Linked DNA regions of Homo sapiens: regions 2 and 3 are each linked to region 1. The links are contacts of gene promoters, found by promoter capture Hi-C in blood cells and fetal thymus (Javierre and others, 2016). All regions are on one chromosome and are shown on one strand. The core of a region is centred on a gene start or on the middle of the fragment in contact, and the rest is flanking DNA. Distances in the headings are between cores, read along the strand shown.

The links. The method cuts DNA at HindIII sites, captures the fragments that hold promoters and counts their contacts. A CHiCAGO score of 5 or more calls a contact.
Region 2: a fragment that was not itself captured here is called in contact with the fragment with the promoter of OSGIN2 in region 1 in 4 of 17 cell types (monocytes, M0 macrophages, M1 macrophages and 1 more); the score reaches 10.8 in monocytes.
Region 3: a contact is called between a fragment that was not itself captured here and the fragment with the promoter of OSGIN2 in region 1, in 1 of 17 cell types (monocytes). The highest score is 5.1, in monocytes.

Annotation. Positions count from the first base shown.
Region 1 is chr8:89,900,082-89,905,132 of GRCh38, reverse strand. It overlaps OSGIN2 (oxidative stress induced growth inhibitor family member 2), which reads right to left and starts at 2,563. Exons shown (of 6, transcript NM_001126111.3): 1 at 2,296-2,563. The coding sequence starts at 2,339. It overlaps LOC124901974 (a long non-coding RNA gene), which reads left to right and starts at 2,727. Exons shown (of 2, transcript XR_007061001.1): 1 at 2,727-3,114. It also overlaps the pseudogene RNU6-925P. RefSeq lists silencers at 939-998, 1,992-2,441, 2,472-2,811, 2,561-2,859 and enhancers at 3,153-3,918, 3,919-4,684. The HindIII fragment of the contact is 4,461 bases long and covers 1,092-5,051 here.
Region 2 is chr8:89,788,367-89,793,417 of GRCh38, reverse strand. RIPK2 (receptor interacting serine/threonine kinase 2) reads right to left here. Exons shown (of 11, transcript NM_003821.6): 10 at 3,936-4,097; 11 at 2,354-3,339. The coding sequence ends at 3,002. Among named protein-coding and RNA genes, the nearest start is that of RIPK2, 33 kb to the right of the region's middle. RefSeq lists a silencer at 3,010-3,210. The HindIII fragment of the contact is 1,194 bases long and covers 1,716-2,909 here.
Region 3 is chr8:89,828,069-89,833,119 of GRCh38, reverse strand. No RefSeq gene overlaps it. Among named protein-coding and RNA genes, the nearest start is that of OSGIN2, 72 kb to the left of the region's middle. The HindIII fragment of the contact is 6,814 bases long and covers 1-5,051 here.

The DNA.
Region 1 (5,051 bases), core at 1,314-3,813:
AAAAGACTTTTTCCATACCATAGCAGTACTTGTTTAAATGATCATTCAAACTAAAATGAAATGCTTTACTAACTGAATTTTTATAGTCTTTGGAACCATGAACCTAAAATTTACCAAATTTATACTACCACATGGAAAGAAGGTTCTAAAGCCACAAATGAAGTCAGTCACACTCTTCATCTTCCAGAACACGAAGGAAGAGGTTTTTTCCTTTGGAAAGTTAGTGGACAGTTCTCTCACTACTTATCCATTCAGATGTTAGACAATAGATGTCACAACCTGTTTTATAATCTGTGTTTTTTTGTGTGTTTTTTGTTTTTTTGAGACAGTCTCACTCTGTCGCCCAGCTGGAATGCAGTGGTGCGATCTCAGGTCACTGCAACGTGTCTCCTGGGTTCAAGCTATTCTCCTGCCTCAACCTCCCGAGTAGCTGGGATTACAGGTGCACACCACCCTGCCCGGCTAATTTTTGAGTTTTTAGTAGAGACGGGGTTTCACCATGTTGGCCAGGATGACCTGAACTGACCTGAAACTGCTCGAGAAATAGCACTGGTAAATCAGAAACATATTCCTGAAGGAGCTGGTAAACAACTAAAAAAAAAAATACTTTAGACACAACAGAACTGTTTTTGCAATAAAAAGTGTGGTTTATTAATCATAATGTTTATCTTTGGCAGCTAGCTTGTTTTTCTTTCTGTCCCTCCAGACCAAAACATAGCAAATACTTTGTTTTCACTCCCTACTCCAAATTTCTGTGCACGGCAGGAAGCAAATGGTATTCAACACCCAGTATTAGTCAAAAGAATATGAATCCTACACTGTGCATCAAAAGGTGTCAAATAGCTTTCACACAATATTTTCTGAAAGGCATGTTAGATTCTCATGGGCTTTATTTAGTTTAACAAGTTTCACTAGGGGAACCTATTTCCTAAAAGTTTCCATAGTGAATCTGATACCTTCAAACCGCTGTCTCAGTAGTCAACAAATTTGCCTAAAAGTTAAAATCAAGCAGTTTATTATATGAAACAATTTTTCCTTAATATCCACAACCTAGAGACTCATTCTAAACTCACTGAGAGGTTAGACAAGCTTGGATTATCGCTGTTACAAAAGAAGTTCCAAACTTTCTCTATGCCTTACATCTCTTTTACTATAGGATGACGCTTCTTAACCTCTTCTCTGAATACTGTTCTTAAATATACACAGGATTTACAAGAAAACTAATTCTATTAAAACAGTCATAAAAAGTAAACGCGATATATATATGTGCTTCTCTGTTGCATTCAATAAATTCAGTGATGTGTTACTATAATTTTGAATAAGTATAAACAGTATTTCTATATTAACTGCAATGTGATATAAACATATTTTATGATCTCTACTGATGACAGTCACAGATACTACTGTGATTTGTTGCTTATATTTTAACTGAATATTAGTTTTTAAAATTTAGTGAAATGATATACCTTTCTTTCCATCCAAGTTCATGGGTTACCTAAATTGTATGAAACCCACTATTTAGGAAGGCTTGATCAAAATTTCATATTTTACCAGGGAAGAAGTCTTACATAGAATTATTCTGGAACATCAGTATATGTAAAGCAAGGTACTAAAGTATTCCCTATGCTTAACCATTCTTCACCCCAGGGTTAAAATCAGTTTCTAGTGTCTGGTCTTTCCACCAATGACTGAGGTGTTGACCAAATGTGCTAGATCTAGAAAACATACTTTTATTTTAGAAATGTATTATATTTTATCACCCCTAAAACCTTTCCCCATAAGGTGATTGTAAAACCGCCTCATTCTTTAAATTTCTACAACACACACGTCTTACCATGGCTAACATCTTAACAAGGCAGAATCTATTTGTGATTAGATGACACTGAAATGTAGTTCCCTACCTTCCTTCCACTCATTACATTATTTAGAAGACTTTTTAAGAAATAATTTTTTTTTAGGGAGGCAGGCACTTCGTAGAACCCCCTTCACTAAAACTTTGCACTACTGGGAAGTCTCAGCTCGCCGTAACCGACTCAGTCCGGCCTAGCCGATCCCGCAGTCCCGTGACCCGCGCGGTCCAGAGCGAGAAAAGGGAACAGCGCAGGGCTCCCCGGAGCAAGGACCCCACCACACCGCACCCCACCCCACCCCCACGCCAGGCAGGACGGCCGAGGCGGGAGGACGCTGCGGTCCAGGCGCTCGCCCTCCACCCCGGTCCCGGCCCGGGCCAGGCCAAAAAGCTCGAGAGCGCGGCATCCCCGCCTGCTCCCCTCCCATCCCCGGCGAGGAAGTCACCTGAAATGACCGGCCAGGGAGCAGCGGCAGCACCACACGGGCATGGAGCGCTGCGCGAGGGGCGCCCGAGCGCGGCCGCCGTGGCCGCCTCCGCCTCCCCCGGCGAGGCTGCCCGCTCGGGGCGCCCGCTGGCTCGGGGTCGCGGGGTCTGCCGGGCGCCCCTGCCTCGCGCCTCGCCGTTGCCGCGGCTGCCCCGGCTCTGTGGCGCCGGAGTCCGCCTCCAGATAGCGGCTTCCGCTCCTCGCCTGCAGGGAGCCAGGCGCCGGAGGCGGGTGATCTCGGGGCGCCGCGATAGGGGCGGAGCGGGGCGGGGACGCTGCGACGGCGGCTGCAGCGGCGCGCGGGCCCCTCCTCGCAGGTGCGGCTGCGGCGGGCGAAGTCTGCGATTGGTGGAGCCACGGCCCGGGCGAGGGGCCGGGCCTGATGGAGCCGAGGCTGCGCGGGCAGGGGACCGAGGTCTGCAGGCAAACTGCGCGGCTCGACCGGCGGCAATCGAGACCTAGACCTCGGTCAGCGCCCCGCCGCCCCTCTGCGTGCGACTTGGTGAGGCCGGTGGGTGCGCGTCGAGAGGGCCGAGGGACGAGCGGAAGAGAAGCTGCTGCGAACTCGGGCCACCCAGATGGCCCGGCGGAGTTCCCTGCGTAAGGCGCGGCCTCGGCCACTTCGCCGAGGACCCCGGGAAGGGTCGAGCTTCCCACGCCTGAGAACCCACCTTTGGGCATTTCCTCGCGCTGCCGGGGTGCAGACGCCGGGAGCTTCCGGGTGCCTCTCCCGCTGACCCCCGCATCACAGTTACCTGGAGGACTCACCAAACCACAGGTGCCCGGGACCCGCCCACCACGCTTCTTTTATGGAAGTCCCGCTTCCGGGAAGAGGTCATCCTCCCCTCTTCATGTCTCTCAAACACCCACAAGTGTAGGAATTACCAGCACGCCGGGTGAAAATCCAGGTGCTCATCAGGCCCGCCCCAGACCACACCGGCCAGTGTGGGGAAGGGCAGGAACCCCTGCTGCTTTTTAAGCCCCTGCGGGCGTTTGTGATGCAATAGGGAGTTAGAAAAGTACTCAATAGTGAGTGTCGTTATTCGGTTTGTCAAAAATTAAAGGTGGGGAGGACAAAAATCAGGAGAGATTGATTGCATCTACTTTTCTACGGAAATGTCTAACTCCGCTTCCAAAAAAAGCCGTAATTATTTTTGTGCTTCAAATATACGTTTATGTTTATATCTTTCAACATAATTTTGTAAAACAAATGTTAAGTTTTACTGAATGTTGTCACTGAACAAACTTGTGATGAGCAGGTATTTTAGAGTCTTGGGGTCTTAAAAGAAAATCATAGGACTCAGACTGCCCCAGAGTTATGCAATCTAAGAGTATATTAACCACTTTTAAGTATTATATGTTTTTCTCTTTTTTGAGCTTTTGTCGATTTGACACGTTCATTTCATTTGAATGTTGGTTCTGAAAATGAAGCATGTAGTTACTTTTCCGTTAACATACATAACAGCATTTTAAAGTACCTAAATTCCTTTTGGAAGGCCGAGGCGGACGGATCACCTGAGGTCAGAAGTTCCAGACCAGCCTGACCAACATGGTGAAACCCGTTTCTACTAAAAATACAAAACCTAGCCCCGGGCGTGGTGGCACGCGCCTGTAATCCCAGCTACTCAAGAGCCTGATGCAGGAGAATCGCTTGAAACCGGGAGGCGGAGGTTGCAGTGAGCTGAGATCGCGCCACTGCACTCAGCCTGGGCCAAAGAGTGAGACTCCGTATCAAAAAATAATAATAAAGTACCTGGCCGGGCGCGGTGGCTCACGCTTGTTATCCCAGCACTTTGGGAGGCCGAGACGGGCAGATCACGAGGTCAGGAGATCGAGACCATGGTGAATGGCGTGAACCCGGGAGGCGGAGCTTGCAGTGAGCTAAGATCGCGCCACTGCACTCCAGCCTGGGCGACAGAGCGAGACTCCGTCTCAAAAATAAATAAATAAAGTACCTACATTCCTAAAAGCAGTGCTTAATTCTGCAGCACATATACTAAAATTAGAATAATATAAAGATTAGCATGGCCCCTTCCCAAGGATAACACGCAAATTCGTGAAGCGTTCCGTATTTTTAAATATATACACCTACTATGTAACCAAAAAAATTAAAAATAAACATATAAATTCCTGAAAGCTATGCCAGTCCAATCCAGATAATTCTTTTAATTTTTAATTTTTATTTTTTGTGAGTACATGGTATATATATTTATGGGGTACATGAGATTTTGATACAGGCATACAATAAGTAATAATCACATCAGGGTACATGGAGTATCCATCACCTCAAATATTTATCCTTTCTTTGTGCTACAAACAATCTAATTATACTTAGTTATTTTAAAATGTTCAATGAATTATCGTTGACTAGTCACTCTCGTGCTGTCAAATACTAGATCTAATTCTGTCTATACTTTTGTACCTATTAACCATCCCCACTCTGCCCCTTAATTCCCCACTACCCTGCCCAGCCTTGTAACCATCATTCTATTCTCTGTTAGTTCCGTTGTTTTAATTTTTAGCTCCCACAAATAAGTGAGAACATGCAGAGTTTGTCATTCTGTACCTGGCCTATTTCACTTAAAGTAGTGACATCAGTTGCATCCATTTTGTTGAAAATAACAGGATCTCATTCATTTTTATGGCTGAATGCTACTACGTTGTGTACATAAACCACATTTTCTTTATTTGTCTATTGATGGACACTTAGGTTGT
Region 2 (5,051 bases), core at 1,063-3,562, 110 kb after region 1:
AAAAAACAGCCCCCACTGCTTGACACAACTGCTGCCAACACCCAAATCTTTCACAGTCATGCAAATTTCTTTAGTATAACTTTCAGCACAATTTAGTCTTGCTTCTTGTATTGATCCTCATATCGGCTCAGCTCTACTGCTGTCATAACTCAAGTGTTTGCCCCTTCTGAAGTTCTTCCCTAAAGAACTGAGTTGTAGATTCTACTATAGTGATCTGATTTTCATGTTTAAGTGAAGCTATCTTTCCAAAATTCAAAGCATGATTAAAATTGTTTTGAGAATTCAAATTGGATGCAAAACAAAAGTAAAATTTTGTAATCAAACGTCAGTTCAGAGAGTGAACATTCTGAAGGCACGTGGCAATCAGAGTTCATGAAAACACATCTGTGAACCTAGAGAGAAATTATTTTATGCACAAATCTATAGTGTTTCTTAAAATAAAGGGTCTTGAACTTTACCGTGAGTAAAAATCGCTTGGAGAGTTTGTTAAAACAGATTCCTAGACCTCACCCCCAGAGACTGAATCAGTCGGTCTGAGATAGGAGCCATGAAGTTTCATTTCTAACATGCTATAGGTGATGCTAAATGTAGCCAGTCTGTGCACTGTACTTCTGGGTAGCACTGTCTTAAAATGCACTGCAAGGAATGACATCTCTAGCATTATCTAGTACTAGCTAGTTAAAAAATAAATTACTAGGTCCCTTCCTGGAGTGACTGAATTTTAATCTGTCATTTTCTTACTACTTCTATGATTGCTGGCCCATTCATGTCCTATCTATATTATAATTTACTTAATAGTACTTAAATTGTCTTTATTTAAATATTATGTAATAAAACTTTAGTATAAACAGAAAACTATTACTTGTCATATGTAGAAGTATAAATTTCAAATAGAATGCAACAAAAAAAACCATAAAATTCTTGGTAAATAGTCTCTGAAGTTCTGAGCCTAAAGCCTATTCTCATTTTGTTAACGAGGGGGATAAAAAGATGTTAGCAAAAAAATTGAGATATTCTCCTTTATTTAATTATAAGGCTCAAAAAAGAACGGAAAAGAATGTCCTTTACTAAGTGACTCAAATGCCATTTAGTGGTGAGCCTACATATGACCTAAAATAATCCCACTTACTACTAGCTGTGCTTGCACTACATTTTTGGAAATAAGATTTAAAGGAAACATCTCCCCTTCTCTATGTTTTCATTCCATTGCACTATTCATTAAAGAGTTATTCAAAAAGTGCCTACTCTATGCCAGACCCTGTTCTACACTAACTAGTCATACTCAGCATAATCTGTCTCATCTTCCTCTAAGTAGCAGTTACTAAATAGGGGTTATAATAAAAACCAACTGCTGAGATTGTAACAATCCCATGAAGAGATGATGAGAGCTCACTGCAGATTCATCTTAATCCCTGACAACATCTTCTTACTTATCAACATGTTATTATTTACGCAGAAAAAGTTTGCAGAGCTGTGATGACGGATGACTACACGTGTCTTCCATACAGAAAATTGTGGGAGAAAGTGACTGTAAGCACATAGCCATAAAGCACACAAACTATGAGTTTTTAGATCTTTGCAGAGAATAAAAAACAAGGCAAAGTTCATTTTATCAATCCAGATATACCTCATGAAATCAGTATAAACATCAATTTGAGGCCATCAATAGTCAAAATAATTTCTTTTTAGAGTATGTATAGAGAAAAGGGAAAGCTTCCAAAATAATTTTCTCTATTTATTACTTCACAAATAAAATTTGCATCTTAATGCTTTTTAAAATTTAATAGATAACTCATGTGTTTAGTTTTCACTTTTCCCTATTAATTTCCATATTTCTGAAAGGCACAGTAAGAGGTACAAGTTAATGTCAAGCTCTAAAATGGAGATTAAAATGCTTATATTTCTAATTAATATTTAATTACCTCAATGGCATCTAATTTCTTTTATTCAAACTTTTCAGGTTGTGGGTCTGTTGCTTCTTGAAAGTTCATCTTTTCAAATTTATTCTGTATCTCACTTTCTGCTGACTTCGCTACGCAGTTTCAGAAAAGGGCTATTATTCCTTGTAAGTTCTCCTATAGTAATATAACCTATTAACCAAAAAAGTGCTCACACCGTACTTTTATTGTTTGGGCTAAATTTGATATGGACAAGTTAAGAAAATAAAAACTGTGGGTATTAGGCAGCAAGTAAAAAGAGTAAGTTAGAGCCATATCTGATCTGGAAGGCTGTACTATTAAATGCAAAAAGCAGGTTGCAGTATGATGTATAATTATAATAATAATATGCAGAAAGATCCTTTCTCAAATGAGCATATGTTCTAAATATAAGCAGGAAGAAAGGGACAGAAAGATACACATCAGGCTGTTGACTTTATTTAGCTTGGTTGTTGGTGACAGTAGGGAAGGCTGAGGTTAAAAATGGGGACAGGAAGCCGGTATTAATATATTTATTTTTTTCTTTATATTGTATTGTTTTACCTTTGAAATATCATTTTTAAAGGGAATTCATAAATAAAACTTTAAAATGTAATCCTAATAATGGAGTTTTAAATTAATAACCCTTTGTAGGGCAATTAAGCCTGGGATTTTAGGGCAGGGATTCTGTACTGTCTCTGGTGGGTAAAGGGTATATACTTCATAAAATCAAATTGCATCTTAGACAAGTAACAAATAATCCATGAAGAACATGAATGTGAAAATGGCTTCCATCAGAAATACATCATACCTTAAGGCACTGTTATAAACAAGAATAATTACTATCCTTTAAAAGTGGTTTCTGTTAACAAAAGAGACATAAAAATTGAACTATGTAGCAAAATTCAAACTTTTTACTTGTATTAATTAAAAAAAATACTGCAGTGTCATGGAGGGAGACTAATATTTACCCAAAGAACCTTCAATAAAGCTTTAATACTCACGGATTTTATATAAAAAAAGTCAAAGCAACAGAGATATAAATATCCTTTTATGAAACACATTTCTTCTTGAAAAACAGTCACTTACATGCTTTTATTTTGAAGTAAATTTAAAGATGGTGATCTAGAAACCACAAGTATTTCCGGGTAAGGCTGAAGACCCATTTGTTTGTTATCTTTCAATTTTTGTACTATAACTTTGGCAAATTCTTCTCCTTGGATGTCAGTAGTGTCTAGTAATTGTCTGACTTTTGAGGTCCTTGTAGGCTTGGTACTAACAAGTTCATAGTCCTCTTTCATGATCAAGTCCCTGGACAGAAGGGCATCTAGCGACTGGTTAAGGCAGGCTTCTGTCATTTGGTTCACAATGTCTTCCCTTTTGCTCTGGATCCACTGCTGGGCTATACCAGGCTGCAGACGTTCTGAAAAAGAACAAGGAATGAATAATTTAAAAGGTGAGGACAGATACATAGCAATAAGTAAAATTCCATGAAAAATAAATAAAGCATAAAACATAATTTTCCTATGATTGTGCCAATATGGAACACCAACACTTTGGGGAATGGTGTCATTTTTCAGGAAACATTCAGAGATTTGGGTTATCTCCCCCTCACTCCCCAGAAAAGGCATTGCCTTTTCCTATGGTATAAATCACGGGGCAAAAACCACTTTATGTCATCATTTCCATCTTCTGGGATTTGTTCAGTTTTGTTTGATGTCCATTTTATTTCAAATATAAAAGATACCTGCAAATTTTTTAAATAAACAAAAATAACTTTACCATTAGTAATATGTTAATACCTCCTCTTAGCACTGCCTCCCTATTTAGATGTTCATAGAATACCATTTGGGCCATGTCATCATTCCCATCTCCTGGGATTTGTTTTCCTACTTAAGAAGGTATGTATTTATCATATTGAGGAAATAAAGACAAACCTCATTGTATGGTAAATCCACTGAACACAGATATGTAAGGTCAATGGCATCACTTACAAGGTGTTTCACAGTAAATATTTACCTGAGTTTCCTGCAGTTGAGAGTGGATTTATTATTGCTGAAGAGCATGGAGTGGTCTTGTGATCACAGAATGCAGCCCTTTGAGATCCAGAAATGGTGCTATCCCAACTGTGATTTCCAGGACAGTGATGCAGCTTCATAAAATAACAGTCTTGAGCTTTTCCTACAAAATACAACATCTTCATTAGAAGTAGAATACTCCTTAGAAATTCCTATTGGCTAACATGTCAACATCTGAGCAGACAGAAGGTAGGCTCCAATGTCTTTAGTTTCCACTAATATTAAGGCTGGTTCAGAAACCTAATTCTGCAAGTAGATATTTCTTAAAACAAAAAAGGGTTTATATGGAATGCTTTCACTACAATTTCTGTCAGAAATTGTCTGTTCTGTGTAAATTATAAATCATAGAATTTTACTTCTTTACATAGTCCCATATTTTTCCTGTGTGTCTTCTTACTCCTTCTGAAGTTTAAGTATGTTCTCTAAATCTATATATGATGTCTGTCTTTCTAGTTTCTCTTCTGGCAATCCCACTGAGCCTCAGGGACTTAATCATCCCCTCTATTCCCAAATCCACGCAATTACATTTTCTGTCTTCATTGAACTTTCGTCTTATATTTCCTTCCTTCCTTCTTTCCTTCCTTCCTTCCTCCCTCCCTGCCTCCCTCCCTCCCTCTCTCTCTCTCTCTGTCTCTCTCTCTTTCTTAGATGGAGTTTTGCTTTTGCCACCCAGGCTGGAGTGCAATGGTTGCGATCTCAGCTCACTGCAACCTCCACCTCTCAGGTTCAAGCGATTCTCCTGCCTCAGCCTCTTAAGTAGCTGGGATTACAGTTGCATGCTACCACAACTGGCTAATTTCTGTATTTTTAGTAGAGATGGAATTTCACCATGTTGGCCAGGCTGGTCTTGAACTCGTGACCTCAGGTGATCCACCTGTCTCAGCCTCCCAAAGTTCTAGGATTACAGGTGTGAGCCACTACACTCAGCCATGAACCTTAGTGTTATATTTTCAAAAGCCCTCTGGCCATCAACCCTTTGTGTGCTCCTAGTACCTCAAATTAAAAACAAAAACAAAAACATTAAAAGTATAATTATCCGTCTTAACTCTAAAACTTG
Region 3 (5,051 bases), core at 1,632-4,131, 72 kb after region 1:
ATACAACTCTCAACTGTCTTTGGGAACCTCCTAATACTGGAATCTTTAGCCCAACCTTCGCTTGATCATGAAAAGCATCAAGTGAATGGGAAACTAAAATTATTATTTATTTATTATCATTTTTTGAGATGGGGTCTCATTGTGTTACCCAGGCTGGGCTCAAACTCCTGGGCTAAAGCGATCCTCCCAGCTCAGCCTGCTGAGTGACTGAGACTATAGGTGGATGCACTGTGCCCACTAAAATTACTTTTAACTGTGCCTTCCAACTAAGAAACACATCTACTCCCACCCCCAATTATCAGGATAGAAATCTCTTGGGATCTACTACTGCAGTTATCCCAATTTGTAGCACTGATGATAATCAAAAACATCTCTAGGTAGAAAAGTATAAATATCTCAATAAACTTATTATAAAAGAGGCAATAGAAATGCCTGTTGGTATTTATGACATTCATGAAGTGCTGCCAATGATGCAGGAGCAAATGAGCTAGTTAACATTTGTAGGCAAATATGGTATCCTTTACAGCCCTCTTCCACTGAATGAAAGAGGCAGCCTGGTGAGCTTGATAATGTGTTTTGTATCACAGCCTTGAGTGACAAATCCATGAGCCAGAAACAGCAAGTCATATTATCTCAGCATTTCTAAATTTTATAGATTTACAATTGCTGAGTGAGTTAAAAAGAAACTATCAAGTATACTAAATGCTGCATGTAGATATCATATCTGGAATCATAGCCATCTGTGAAAGTTATACACAGATTTATTATTCCATTTCATTAACCCATTTCATCTGTTCTCTGTACAAGTACTTTTTCACTAATTTTGCTTTCTTTTCCTATTTTATGTGATTGATCATTATTTCCTTCTTTTCTACTCTGTTAATATTTCAACTTCTCTTAATTAAGTTTTCTAATGAAACTTTATTGAAGTCCTTTCATAAGATAAATGGCTTTGATGTTGAGCCATGAATGCAATGGAAGAAAAAAACAATGAGAGCCATAACTTCCTTAAATAACTAGCACTCTATTTTCAGTTGCTTAGTTTTAATTTTTAAGGCTTATTCACTGTGAAGAGTGTAGAGTTATCGAGTTCTGCAAAACATTTGACAACACAGCAGTAGATTCTGTCAGTTATTTCATGATGAACATGGAAATTTAAATCTAAGATATAAAGTATGTTGCAAAGAAGGTGAAATTTTTGAGTGTAAATGACTTTCAAATGAATATTTTTAATGGGGGCATTCCGATAAAATTTTTAAATGTGAATTCCAGTTAACAAAAGCATTGTTCCTATGTGATAGAATTAGTGCTATTGGTATTCTTAGTTTACAAATGAGAAAACAGAGCCTTAGTAAGGATAAGGAACATGCCCAAAGTCACATAGTTCCTAAGTAACTAAATGTGATTTGGATCAGGATTGTCATATTCCAAAAATCTGTTTTTGACCCAACATGCTATACTACTAATGTTATTTTGTATTCTCTTATTTTCTCTTTCTTCTTTTTAAGAGACGAGGTGTTGCTCTGTCACTTGGGCTGGAGCGCAGTTGAATGATTATAGCTCTCACCGCAGACTCAAAAACTCCTGGGCTCAATCAATTTTTTTTTTTTTTTGAGACGGAGTCTCTCTCTCTCACCCAGGCTGGAGTGCAGTGGCGCGATCTATCTTGGCTCACTGCAAGCTCCGCCTCCCAGGTTCACACCATTCTCCTGCTTCAGCCTCCCAAGTAGCTGGGATTACAGGCATCCTCCACTATGCCTAGATAATTTCACATCTTTAGTAGAGACAGGGTTTCACCATGTTGGCCAGGCTGGTCTCGAACTCCTGACCTCAGGTGATCTGCCCGCCTTGGCCTCCCAAAGTGCTGGGATTACAGGCGTAAGCCACTGCACCTGGCCTCAATCGCTTCTTCTGCCTCAGCCTCACAAACAGCTGGGATCCTAGGCGCAGGCTACCATGTCAGGCTCTGCTATTTTCATTTGATATGTAATCATAAATATTTTTCTATGTTTTTTGGGATATCATTTTTATAAGCCACGGAATTCTCCTCCAAGTTGATGCATAGTTTCTTTTGTTATTGTTTGTTTTTATTCTTACAAATAAGAGTATAGTTAACAAGTTAACATTGCCACACTTATCTTTTCAATTCTGTTAAATTTTATCCTTACGATAAATTCCTAGGTATGTATGTTTGATAAAGAGTAGGTTTTTAAAAAGTTGTCTTTGTTTTTCATAGGTATTTTTTTTTTCTTTTTGAGATGGAGTCCCACTCTGTCACCCAGGCTGGAATGCAGTGACGCGATCTCAGCTCACTGCAACCTCTGCCTCCCAGGTTCAAGTGATTCTCCTGCCTCAGCCTCTCGAGTAGCTGGGATTACAGGTGGCAGCACAATGCCCAGCTAATATTTGTGTTTTTTTTAGCAGAGACGGTGTTTCCCCATGTTGGCCAGTCTGGTCTCAAACTTCTGAAACCAGGTGACTCACCTGCCTCAGCCTCCCAAAGTGCTGGGATTACAGGCGTGAGCCACCATGCCTGGCCTCTTTCTCATAGGTATTTCTTTTATTTAAAAAATTAATAAGACGTGCAGGACTCGGTATGAACAAAGAAAAAAAGGAAATTTTAAAAATAAAAAACCATACAAATAATGCATAAATAAATGCTAGTTGAGAAATTCTCAAGCCATATGGTGAGGCAATTTCAGACAGTATATATTTTACCTACTTTGATTGGATTTGGTCTTTCAGGCTATATTTTCCTTAAGCACATGAATCCTATAATTGAGAGCCTGGCATAGAATCAGTAGCTAAAAGAATAATAGATAATGAGTTGAAAGATGTCTTCCAACAGAAGAGACAGCATAGCTACCATACTTTGCCAAAACAATAAATTGATTTATGGTGTTATAGAGATGCAATTTTAAATTCACTGGTATAAATTTCCAGGTTTGTATACTCACAATGTATACAGTCATGCTTACTATGTTAAGAATCTTTTTAAAGAAACTTTTATAATGTAGTTCCTCATGGATTATTATTTATATCTTCATCAATCCGCCTTTCAGTTTCCTACTCTGAGCTTACTCTTACCCAGGAAAGCTCTTTAAACTAATCTCACTTCTCGTGATCATGAACATCCCTCAGCTTACTCACTCTCAAGGTCATTATTTATTCATTTAGCCAATAGATAATTGCCAAGTCTTCTAGATGCTGAAGCTAGAGCAGTGTCTAAGAGACAAATAAGATCTCTGTTTCTGTGGAGTATTGTTGGAGGAGGCAGATAACACAAAGAAATGGGCATTTTAAGATTGTAATAAATACTATGAGAGTAAAATGGAGATGGGGCCTAAGAGTGGCTCACACCTGTAATCCCAGCACTTTGGGAGGCCGAGGTGGGTGGATCACGAGGTCAAGAGATTGAGACTATCCTGGTTAACATGGTGAAACCCATCTCTACTAAAATTACAAAAAATTAGCTGGGCGTGGTGGTGAGTGCCTGCAATCCTAGTTACTTGGGAGGCTGAGGTACGAGAATCACTTGAACCTAGGAGGTGGAGGTTGAAGTGAGCCAAGATGGTGCCATTGCACTCCAGCCTGGGTGGCAAGAGTGAAACTCCATCTCAAAAAAAAAAAAAAAAAAGGAAAAAAAAACAACAACGAAAAACAGGGAGATGAGACTGAGATTGTCTAAGGCAGGGCGTTGGGGGAAGAGGGTTACTCTCATATGGTGATAATGAAAGGCTTCTGAAAGCATCTGAGCTAAGACCTAAATGATGAGGAATGAGCATTCCAGGTGGAGGGAGAAAATCCCCTGGGGAAGCCAAAGGTTTGTCCTACAAAACAGAAAAAATGCCAGAGGGAGTAAGTGCATGTGGCAGGAGGTGAGCTTGTCGAAATTTTTTGGGAACTGATCATATTGGACAGTGTGGGTCATGCTAAGAACCCACAATAGTTATTATGCTTGCAAGGGGAGCACACTTTGGAGGTTGTTGAATAGGAGAGTAAAATGATGTGATTTACTTTTTAAAAAGATGATCTGGCTGCTGTATGTCTTGTCCAAGATCAATCTCCACCCCATCTTGTGATAACATCCAGTGTCTAGCACATAGTGAGTGCCGAATGACTGAGCACAAATTATCCATTCCATTTCCAATATCTTCTGTATAATCTCTCCTTAACTGTCCTTTCCTTCCCACTTCTCTGACCACAGGAAAAATCCTTATTCATTAAGATTCAGCTAAAGCATTACTGTTCTGGGAAGCCTTTCTGATCTGCAGAGCTGAGTGAAATACCCGCCTCTATGCAGTTTTTGGACATTGTGCTCGCTTCTGTTATAATACTTAACATAATTATCGGTTAGGTTGTCTTCCCTCCCTATAGTGCTTAGCAAGGCCTATTTCTTATTCTTACTTAATCTTCAGTGACTATGTTAGATGATCTGCACATAGTCTGTTCACCTAAACTGCCCTTAACTGTTGATGTATTTGTTAATCACTTGGTATTACCCAACTTTGAAACTGACTCTAGAGAGGGTGACCTCTCTAGAAAACCTTTCTAATCTCAAGCCAGCTCTGTACTCCCTTCACAATATTGTAGCTTCACCCTAGATAATTCTTATTTTGCATTAAAATCTTGGCTTCCAGCTGGGCACAGTGGCTCATGACTGTAATCCCAGCACTTTGGGAGGCTGAGGTGGGTGGATCACGTGAGGCCAGGAGTTTGAGACCAGCCTGGCCAACATGGCAAGACCTTGTCTCTACTAAAAATACAAAAATTAGTGGGTGTGTTGGTGCACATCTATAATCCCAACTATTCGGGAGGGTGAGGCACAAGAATCACTTGAACCTGGAACAATGAGATTGCAGTGAGATGAGATTGTGCCACTGCACTTCAGCCTGAGCAACAGAATGAGAGCAACTCATTTCATCCAAAGTGGACATAAACCTGTTTTTATTATTAGGCATAAATTATTTGGGGACAGAATTACATCTAACTTATTTCTGAAATCCTGGTCTCTACTACCGTGTCTGGCACGTTGCAAACACAAAACAGGT